Regions from separate parts of the Homo sapiens genome. Here region 2 is linked to region 1. The links are contacts of gene promoters, found by promoter capture Hi-C in blood cells and fetal thymus (Javierre and others, 2016). All regions are on one chromosome and are shown on one strand. The core of a region is centred on a gene start or on the middle of the fragment in contact, and the rest is flanking DNA. Distances in the headings are between cores, read along the strand shown. Region 1 holds the start of DDB2 (damage specific DNA binding protein 2). Region 2 overlaps LRP4 (LDL receptor related protein 4).

Region 1 (5,508 bases), core at 2,022-4,521:
CCTGAGTAGCTGGGATTACAGGCATGTGCCACCATGCCCTGCTAATTTTGTATTTTCACTAGAGATGGGTTTTCTCCATGTTGGTCAGGCAGGTCTCGAACTCCCGACCTCAGGTGATCCGGCCGCCTCGGCCTCCCAAAGTGCTGGAATTACAGGCGTGAGCCACTGCGCCTGGCCAATTTTTATTTATTTATTTAGAAACAGGGTAAACCTCTGTCATCCGGGCTGGAGTGCAGTGGCACAATTGTAGCTCACTGCAGTCCCAAACTCCTGGGCTTAAGCGATCCTCCTGCCTTGGCCTCCCAAGTAGCTGGGACTACAGGCGTGTGCTACCGCACCTAGCTAAGTTGTGTATTTTCTAATTTTTTAGACAGGGGTCTCAGTATTGCTGAGGCTGATCTCCAACTCCTGGGCTGAAGCGATCCTATCCTCTTGCCCTCTCGAAGTGCTGAGATTACCAGCATGAGCCACCACACTGGACCAAGAGTTGATTTTGGTAACATCTTCTGTCCCTATCTGTCTGAAAAATCCTTGAGAGTAGGATCTACCATTAATGCATTAAACAAATTATTATTTTTTGTTTGTTTATTTTGAGATGGAGTCTTACTCTGTAACCCAGGCTAGAGTGCAGTGGCGCTATCTCAGCTCACTGAAACCTCTGCCTCCCAGGTTCAAGTGATTCTCCTGCCTCAGCCTCCTGAATAGCTGGGATTACAGGTGCGTGCCATGATGCCCAGCTAATTTTTTATATTTATTTATTTTTATTTTTATTTTTTTGAGTTGGAGTCTTGCTCTGTCGCCTAGGCTGGAATGCTGTGGCATGATCTTGGCTCACTGCAGCCTCCCTCTCCTCGGTTCAAGCGATTCTCCTACCTCAGCCTCCTGAGTAGCTGGGACCACAGGCAAGTGCCACCACGCCCCAGCTAATTTTTGTATTTTTAGTAGAGACGGGGTTTCACCATGTTGGTCAGGCTAGTCTCGAACTCCTGACCTCAAGTGATCTGCCTGCTTCATCCTCCCAAAGCGCTGGGATTACAGGCATGAGCCACTGCGCCTGATGGTATTTTTAGTAGAGAAAGGGTTTCACCATGTTGGCCCGGCTGGTCTTGAACTCCTGGCCTCAAGTGATTCACCTGCCTTAGGCTCCCAAAGTGCTGGGATTACAGGCTTGAGCCAATGCGATGGCCTACCATTAATGCATTTTTGTATATCTCCTCCCACCCCCACAAACTGTCAGGCACGGGGCTTAGTGGGTGGAGGAAAGGCCCAGCAATGCCTGAGTAAGCCCAACTCCTGCCTGCCTCTTCGCAGAAACTAGGGTGCATCCAAACTGTCTCTTCTCAGGCTAGGCAGGACAGCGCGGCCTCACCTGTGAACCTTCAAGACTTGGACTTTGGCTGAAGCGAGGGCGTAGGAGTTCTAAGTACCGCTGGCTGCACGCCCTCTGGCCCATCACGTCCCAGGCTGCTCCTAGGTGGACACCCAACAGGTTAGGCAAGTCTTAGTTAAAAGCAGTGAGAGGCCAAGAGGCTGGGCATGGTGGCTCACGCCTATAATCCCAGCATTTTGGGAGGCCGAGGCAGGCAGATCACAAGGTCAGAAGATCGAGACCATCCTGGCCAACATGGTGAAACCCTGTCTCTACTAAAATACAAAAAATTAGTCAGGCGTGGTGGTGTGTGCCTCTAGTCCCAGCTGCTCCGGAGACTGAGGCAGGGGAATCGCTTGAACCCGGGAGGCGGAGATTGCAGTGAGCCGAGATTGTGCCACTGCACTCCGGCCTGGGCAACAGAGTGAGACTCCGTCTCAAAAAAAAAAAAAAAAAAAAAGCAGTGAGGAGGCTGGGCACAGTGGCTCACACCTGTAATCTCAGCACTTTGGCAGACCGAGGTGGATGGATGCCAGGAGTTCTAGACCAGCCTAGGCAACTTAGGGAGACTCTGTCTCTACAAAAAATGCAAAAATTAGCTGAGTGTTGCGGCGCGCACCTGTAGTCCCAGCTACTCGGGAGGCTGAGGTGGGAGGATCGATGTCCAGGAAGTCCAGCCTGCATTGAGCCCACATCCTGCCACTGCACTCCAGCCTGGGTGACAGAGAGAGGCCCTGTCTCAAAAAAAAAAAAAAAAAAAAGAAAGAGAGAAAGAAAGAAAGAAAAAATAAAAACAGCCAACGACCAAACAAATAAAAGAGCAGTGAGAACCAGACACGGTGGCTCATGCCTGTAATCCCAGCACTTTGGGAGGCAGAGGCAGGAGGATCACTTGAGCCCAGGAGGTCCAGACCAACGTGGGAAACATAGCAAGACCTTGTCTCTACAAAAATAAAAATAAAAAAATTAGGCTTGGGGATACAGGTCTGCAAGCCTACTTGGGAGGCTGAGGTGGGAGGATCAGTGAAACTTGAGGTCAAGGCTGCAGTGAGCTGTGATTACATCACTGCACTCCAGCCTGGGTAACGGAAGAGAGACACTGCCTCTAGGAAAAAAAAAAAAAAAAAAAAAAAAAGGCAAGGAGTTCCAATCATTCTCCCTTCACAGAGAAGCAGCTTGGATTCGATGGGACTGTAGTTTCTGGAATCCGACTGCAAAGCTGACCGCTGGTAGAGCCCAGCTTCTAACTTAGGAAAGGCACTAGCTCTCTACAAAGCCGCCACTCCCCAACTACACCCTGTAGGGACCAGCCAATCCCAAAGCCCGAGCGGGCGTCATCACCAATTGCAAGGCGGGAGACAGAGCCTTGGCTGGCACCGGGCCTCCTCCCCGGACCCGCAGAGGCCTGGCAGCGCCGCGTTTGAGGAGGGTTCGTGTCAGGAAGTCAAGGCTGGATGATCGCTTAAGCCCAGGAGTTAAAGACCGGCCCGGACAACAAAGCGAGACCCCGTCTCTCCAGAAAAAGAAAAAAAGAGAGAGAGAGAGAGAAATTAGCCGGGCGTGGTGGCGTACGCTTGTAGTCCCATCTACTTAGGAGGCTGAGGTGGGAGGATCGCTTGAGCCCAGGAGGTGGAGGCTGCACTGAGCTATGATCGCCCCACTGCCCTCCAGAGTGAGCGACAGAGCCAGACCCTGTTGCTAAAAAAAAAAAAAAAATCCATAAAGCCGGGGACCATCTTTGCTCCAGGGAGGTCAGCTGACCCGGGCTGGCACTGGCCCTGGCGCAGTTCCCGCCCCTCCCGGGAGCGCTGGCACCGCCCCTTGGCACCACCCCCTCCCCGCGCCCCCGCCTTCCAGGAAGGGGCGGGGTCTCCGAGACGGGTGGGGCCGGAGCTCCAAGCTGGTTTGAACAAGCCCTGGGCATGTTTGGCGGGAAGTTGGCTTAGCTCGGCTACCTGTGGCCCCGCAGTTTTGTAGTCCCCGCCTTGTTTCTCCCCAGAGGCCTCTCAATCCTCCCTCCATGATCTTCGCATAGAGCACAGTACCCCTTCACACGGAGGACGCGATGGCTCCCAAGAAACGCCCAGAAACCCAGAAGACCTCCGAGATTGTATTACGCCCCAGGAACAAGAGGAGCAGGAGTCCCCTGGAGCTGGAGCCCGAGGCCAAGAAGCTCTGTGCGAAGGGCTCCGGTACTGCCTGTGCCTGCTGCTTGAATATTTCCGCCTTTTAGGGTGCTCGCGCAGGAGGCTGCAGCGGGGGATGGGTGCTCCGAGGCTCCCGAGGCCCGCGCAGGTCACGGGTGCCTCCGGCTGTGCATTCTACCTGCAGGTCCTTTGACACCAGAGTGTTTAGGTTTCAACACCTCTCCCGCTAGGTAACAGGAAGCAGATGAGCTCCGTAACAACAGACACACGGACTTGTCAGATTCCTTGTTCGTATCAGGGTTCTTGCACAGTTAGGACGGCTTCAGAGAATCCTACCTTTCCTGGCGCTGTGTGTGCTGGATTTCATAGTCACGCTTGTTAGCTGCACGTCCTCGGTGGTCAGTTGTGAGAGCCCCCAATTCCTTCCTCCTTAGAAAGCTCATTCTCTGAGGTTTACTGGGGCTTGAACCTGGGGCTATAAGGAGTTTCGAGACACTCAAAAACGAGCTGGGGCTTGTTAATCAAGTGGTTTTTGTCCATGAGAAGAAAGAATTGGTTGTCAAGACGTCGGACCTATAGTGATTGGGTCCTCAAATACAGTTTGGTGATCAGGAGTTGTTGCTTTATTGCTATTCTAATTTCACTTACCTCCCCAGAAGTAACCTAGTTAAGAGCATTTCCAGGCCTTCCTATTCCTTCTTTTCCTAAACGGTGACTTCTGCCATGCTGCCCTAAAATCTTTTTATTGTGCATTATATGTGATTTATAAAATTGTGACCCAGTCCCATCTCGAGTTTTGCAGCCCAAACTGGGAAGAGTTCTGCATTGTACTTTATCCTTGTGTGTTTCTTTGGCTGGGGTCTCAGGAACCCTGCACGACTGTATTTACTTTCACTTCAGACTTACTGTTTGTGGGAGTGTTTTGGGGAAGGGGCCAAATCCTCACTCATTTTTTTATTTCTGGTGCTCGTTGAGACCACACAGACATGGAAAGGCCGCAGGAGGTGATGAGACAGAGATTAACCGTGCCGAATGAAACAAGGCTTCCTTTCGGGGAATTCAGCAGAAAAACCTTTCGTGAGATTGGAGAGGAAAATATGTCTGTTCTGCTTGGCAGGTCCTAGCAGAAGATGTGACTCAGACTGCCTCTGGGTGGGGCTGGCTGGCCCACAGATCCTGCCACCATGCCGCAGCATCGTCAGGACCCTCCACCAGCATAAGCTGGGCAGAGCTTCCTGGCCATCTGTCCAGCAGGTAAGGCATTTTTTGCCTCAAGTCCTCAAGGGTTTACACGTGCATTTTTACTATTGCATGCTCCCAAATTAGATGATGGCTTGGTTCACCAGCTTGTCAGAGTGGTCCGATCACCCAGACTGTGGTGACTGGCCTACTGGGCACTCAGCCAGGTAAAAAATGTCTTATGTTGTAAAGGTCCCAGCTGGAATGCACTCTGCCCCTTTTGCTTTCCAAGATTATTCGTTCGTGTACATTGCAAATATTTTCATGCACAGGGCAGGCAGTTAGCTTTCCTTTGGTGGGAGGACTTGGATCTAGGGCTCATCCATGAAGGAGGCAGAGATTGGCAGTTTACCCAGAACTTGGGTTTTAATTCAACCTAATTCATTTCTCTCTGTGGCAGGGGCTCCAGCAGTCCTTTTTGCACACTCTGGATTCTTACCGGATATTACAAAAGGCTGCCCCCTTTGACAGGAGGGCTACATCCTTGGCGTGGCACCCAACTCACCCCAGCACCGTGGCTGTGGGTTCCAAAGGGGGAGATATCATGCTCTGGAATTTTGGCATCAAGGACAAACCCACCTTCATCAAAGGGGTGAGCAGTTCCCCATGCCAGGTCGTGCTAAAGAAGTGTTTGTTGGCTGGGTGCAGTGGTTCGCACCTGTAATCCCAGCACTTTGGGAGGCCAAGGTGGGTGGATCACCTGAGGTATGGAGTTTGAGACCAGCCTGGCCAACATGGTGAAACCCCGTCTCT
Region 2 (5,508 bases), core at 1,899-4,398, 360 kb before region 1:
TTACTGGGTCCTCTTAGAACCCTCTTAGAACCCACTTAGAAACCTGTGCACCCTCAGCTTTTGTAGATGCTGCCTCTGAGTTCCTATGCATTGAATTTAGGCCTACGTTTGGTGACAGCTTCAGTTTATCCAGAGTCCTTTCTATGGGCCAGAGATCCTTTCATTTTAGATTCCACAGTTTGTTCATACACCATAGACAGACCGTGACTGTATTTTGAGTGAGTTTGCAAAAATATGGCCAGTTTGTTAGAACTTGACCCACCATCTGCTCACTTATCAGTTTCAGGGTTTTTTTGTTTTGTTTTTTTAGTGACAAGGTTTTGCTCTGTTACCCAGGATGGAATGCAGTGGCGTGATCATAGCTCACTGTAACCTTGAACTCCTGGGCTCAAGCAATCCTCCTGCCTCAGCCTCCCAAGCAGCTGGGACTACAGGCATGAGCTACCACACCTGACTAATATTTTTAAATTTTTTTGTAGAGATATGGTCCTGTCATGTTGCCCAGGCTGATCGTGAACTCCAGGCCTCAAGCAATACTCCTTACTTCTGTCTTGGCCTCCCAAAGTGGTGAGATTACTTTGGTGTAGCCACTGTGCCTGACCCTAGTTTCAGATTTTATACCAGAGAACTAGACAAGGAATTCCCAACCTTTGTTTTATCCCAAGATGTCCTCCTTTTCTGCTTTTTTTTTCCCTCCCAAAGAGAACAGTGGGGGTTGGAGGGATGGTTATCCTTGGGCTATTCTACTTGTTTTTGTTCTGGCACACCTACTCCTTACTACAGTTAGAAAAATTATACACTGTAGCTTATACTCAGATCTCTGGTCACTTAAATACAAGAAGCTTCAGTCTTTCTTACTTTCATTTTTTGTCTTTTTTTGGGATGGTGGTGGTAATGGTGTTGCTAGACTCTAAGCTCTGTAAGATTATGTCTTTGTTTAGGCATGGGCAGTGCCTAGCCCATAGCAGATGAATGAATGAATGAATGAATGAATGAATGGGGATATTATCCTATAGATGGTGTGTGGTTTAGAAAATCAACTATTGAGACTTGACATGAAATTCTACATCGGGCGTTGAGATTAACATGATTCCCAGTTTTCACTGAGGGATATCACATCCAGAGAACCTGAGAAGGGATCCCTAGCTCCTTGTTCTAGCCTTGAGAAGTAGTGGATGAGCTATGAAAAGACAGCTTTTAAAAATAAATGAAATCCTAGTGATAATTTGATCCACTCTCAGACTAACTATGAAAGTTGACTAAGATCAAACAGAGCTAGTGGCAGATCTGGGACTGGAATTAGCCCTCCATGTCCCCAGCTCCAGTACTTTTCTTACTACATGAGATAGTCTTGCCAGTGACCATCACTGCAAGGCAAAGTAAAGTTCTGTAACAAAGACCTAGAACAGAAATAGAAGATACATGGTATACATGCCATGACATTTCCTTCCAGTGCACAGAAGAGATGTCACTAGCCATATGACATTCTTCCCATTGGGTGCGAATAGGCCCTCAGGCAGCCACTACCAACCAGTCAGAGTCAGCACTCAAGAGGAAACCCATCTACCATTCCTCTTCCAGAGGAAATAAAGGTTTCATCAGTCAAGGAACTCTGGCCTCGACCTGTCTTCTCCAGATGAGCTGAAAACTCCAGCAGGAACCTCACACTCTTTATTGCTCTTCACTGTGCCCACATCCACAAAGGACTTAAAAGTGATGTCTGTAAGCAGGTTTTCCACAGCATGGGTCTGCCAGACAGAGCAGGTGCAGGATTAGTCATGACTCCAAGCCAGGCAAGGTGATTAAGAAAAGCTAAATTTATATTAAATTATCATAAAGTCCTAAAATACTGAACATAGTGGTTAAATAACTCCAGAAAGTCCAATCTCTCCAGTGAGTAACGTTAAAACCATTACACATGAGCATGGGAGAATCGCTTCCATTAGTTTAGGACAGAGAGATTTTGCTTTTTACAGAGTAAATCAGTGCTCAAATAGATACTTCCTCAAATATGTCCTTTCTACATTCTGAACAGCCCAAGTGCAATAAGATCCTTCCCCCTTTCCAATCAAGAAAATGCCACTTTTCTACTTGCTCTTCCTCCCCAGACGTGAGTCTAAGGACCCAAAGTGCTCACTCCTTTACTGCTTGTTAAGTGTAATGTGGGGAGGCTCAGAACTGGGGCTGACGCTACTGAGAGCAAGGCTAAGGGCCTGGTATCTCTCTCTAGCAGTCTTAGAACTGACTAGAAAAGAATTGATCTTGTCCTTTTTCACTTTGGTAGCTGATTTCTCAATACCAGTAACCACAGGAGAAGTTTCAACTCAGGAAACTTCCCCTAGAAATTCTCCCCTCCATTCCCAGCCCCTGTTGTTCTCTCCTGCCACTTCTAATTCCTGGGGGAGAAGAGGTCTGGGTCTGCCATGGGCTAGGAGGGCCTCATCAGTGGTGCTCTCTACCTTCCTACTCCTTACCCACCTCTTTGTATTTTTATTTATTCAGCCCTCCCACCACAGGACTTTGGAGATTGCTGGTGCCACAAGGCTTGGTCAGAAAAAGCAAATTAGGCAAAAAAACAAACAAAAAAACCCCACGAAGAACAGCTAGGGAGACGTTTTAGGGCAAAAATAAGTCTCAATTTCCCTGATACCAGGCTGAGACACGTGCCCTTTGTGTGAATGAGCATGAACCAAGTGATGGCATCCCACATGGAAACTAAGCCCCTTAGCTGAGGGGACAGCTGGAAGAGGAACATCACCACCCCGTAGCCACAGGCTTGCTGTCCACTAACTTAGATCCCTGAGCACTTGAGAAAGAACATAGGAAGTTCAACAGGAAGTTTGACCCTCATGGATACTTCTCTTTAGGCCCTGGGTTTCCCAAGTCTCCAACCTGATCGTTCTTTCTGACCATTTATGACAACTTCTGGTTTTTCTTTGAAAGCTTGTTTCTAGGTCTCTTCCCCAGAATCCCAGGACATGAGGGAGAGAGGGGTCAGGAGGTATACCATATTTGGTCTAGGCAGAGCTTCTTAGACTTTTCAGAGACTCAGCCCCCAAGGCCTAACATTCACTCAAGCCACTGGCTCACAACCTGGTTAATTTGAGCAAAGACTTAGGAAAGGTACTGGCCAGTGGTGGCACCAGGAGGGAATTCCTATTAGCCAGTAGCCTTGTGATAGGGGACCCAGTTATCTGAATGTAGAAACAGCTCCAGACATTCTAGGAGGAGGAAGAACAGCCTGAGCCACCCCCATCTCACCAGTATCTGCTGCTGAAAAGGCAGTGTCTCTTAGGGCAAGAATAATGTCCACTGCCAGCAATGGACCAGACACCCAGATCCAACTACCCCCCAAAGCTTTTTCATGTTACTAACACACTTGAGGCTGGAGGTTTCCCAGATGCCCATACCTGCTGGGCTGATTCTTCCTTCTTCTCTCAGCCTCTATCCTTCATCCCTGTCTTTACCCACACCCCCATGTCCCAGCCCCTGATGGGCAAGTTCTCTCAGAGAAGCAGTCATGCTGGCTGTGATGGGGCAGAGCGCAGTCCTGGGTCATCAGCTGCATCAGCACTGAGAAGCAGGCACTGAGGGTACTGGGGAAAGGGGAGGTGGAGCTCTACGCTGGTGAGGAATCACGAATAAGCAGTTTCAGGGGGCCCAGGATGGAGTACAAGATGTGAGGTTCATGGTAAAATCCAGGTCTAAATTCTCGTGATGTGCCATCATTTCTTGTGCACAGGTAGTTATGGACTCACGTGGTAAACAGCTCCGGTGAAGGCTTAGGAACAGTTATGGGGTGGGAGGAGGAGGAGGACAAGCACACAGAAGCGGGGCCTGCGGTGTAAGCGAGCACAAGGACTAGACGTCCATAAAGGAGAAGGAACAGGCAGGCAGGGAAGAGAATGTGGGCATTTAGACCTGGCTCTCTGAGGAGAGCTTGCGTTCATGTTTCCAGCCCGTGTCTGGCAGAGAGCCTCGTCTTTCTGGAGTGGCTGCAGTATGGACGCTGCTACACTCAGACTGCTCTTCCTGTAACAGCTGCTCCGTCTCTGTGTCATCCAGGGAGCCAGAGCTGGCCTGGATGGACACCGTGTCTGTCTTCATGCATACATGATCCCGGAGGAGGCCCCCCCGTGAGCTTCGCAGTTGCTTGAGGTCATCCCACTCAGCATCATCCCCAGACAGGAGGCAGATTCCCTCTACGATCTTGATCTTCTCCTTGGTGTAGTTATGGTCAGGCCCTCCCTAGGGTGGAGAGTGGGCAGATATGGTCAGTCAGTTGGCCTTCTACAAAGGATCCCATGGTAAACTGAAAAAGGAAGTGGATGGGGTAAGAGTAGGAGTGAAGCGCACAAAAATCCCACAAACAAATGGGGAAATGTGATTAAGACAAGTGTATGAGGCCTAGCCTAAAAGGGGAGAGGCAGCTGTGATAATTATTACCATTACCATACAGGAGGAGGGAAAACCATGGCTTCCGGTCCTGCAGCAGCCACTCACTGGCTTTGTCACCTTAGGCAAATTATTTCACATTTCTAAAACTCAGTCTCTTAAGACTCTGCAGTGTGAGGAGAGTAACAGTATCCACACCTCACAACCAACTGCTGTCACCTTAAATGAGATGATACATGGAATGCAGTTATCAGGGAGCTTGACACAAGATGCACTATAACATGTTAGCTATGTTACATTGTTACTGTGGTTTATTAATGGGACATCATGCTGATATAAATCATCAAAAGCAATTGGCAAGAGCAATTAAATGTACATTTATTCAGGATTTTAAGCTACTTCGGGTGCTAGTTTGTATCTCTTTTTTCTAATTTTGTTAAGGAGAAAACTTGGGAGGTAAGACAGGGGACTCTAGAAAATCCTCTTATCTGGCCGGGCGTGGTGGCTTACACCTGTAATCCCAGCACTTTGGGAGGCCCAGGCGGGCAGATCACTTGAGTTCAGGAGTTCGAGACTAGCCTGGCCAACATGGTGAAACCCCATCTCTACTAAAAATACAAAAATCAGCTGGGTTTGGTGGCGGGTGCCTGTAATCCCAGCTATTTGGGAGGCTGAGGCAGGAGAATCCCTTGAACTCCGGAGGCTGAGGTTACAGTGAGCCAAGATCATGCCACTGCACTCCAGCCTGGGTGACAGAGCAAGATTCCATTAAAAAAAAAAAAAGAAAGAAAGAAAGAAAAAAAACTAAAAAAAAGGAAATCTTCTTATCTGGGTCCTAAACGTCAATATAGTGGGGTCCTGCAACTTATAACCTTTTTTGGGAGGTTACTCTCGCTCTGCTGCCATGAGTCCTGGGACCATTCCCAAGCAAAACCTGGGACTCTTCCAGGCACAGCCTGGAGTTCTGCTCGGGCCTCTCCCTTTATGGCTTCTTCAAAGAGCAGCCTCACTCCTGGCTGCTGGGGTATACCAACCGACATACCACCACTGCTAGAAGAAAATGGATCATCTTGGGTTCTGTCCCTGGGATAGTATTCCTGCCAAGAGTTCTGC

What was found. Contacts are between HindIII fragments. The CHiCAGO score rates a contact against its expected background, and 5 or more counts as called.
Region 2: a contact is called between a fragment that was not itself captured here and the fragment with the promoter of DDB2 in region 1, in 1 of 17 cell types (erythroblasts). The highest score is 5.1, in erythroblasts.

What each region holds. Positions count from the first base shown.
Region 1 is chr11:47,211,703-47,217,210 of GRCh38, forward strand. DDB2 (damage specific DNA binding protein 2) reads left to right here and starts at 3,272. Exons shown (of 10, transcript NM_000107.3): 1 at 3,272-3,561; 2 at 4,634-4,770; 3 at 5,156-5,347. The coding sequence starts at 3,435. RefSeq lists enhancers at 1,876-2,712, 2,713-3,548, 2,755-2,994, 2,836-4,035, 3,325-3,604 and a silencer at 3,065-3,274. The HindIII fragment of the contact is 21,566 bases long and covers 1-5,508 here.
Region 2 is chr11:46,855,068-46,860,575 of GRCh38, forward strand. LRP4 (LDL receptor related protein 4) reads right to left here. Exons shown (of 38, transcript NM_002334.4): 38 at 1,650-4,248. The coding sequence ends at 3,916. All of the region lies in intron 2 of LRP4-AS1 (LRP4 antisense RNA 1), which reads left to right. Among named protein-coding and RNA genes, the nearest start is that of LRP4-AS1, 11 kb to the left of the region's middle. The HindIII fragment of the contact is 414 bases long and covers 2,942-3,355 here.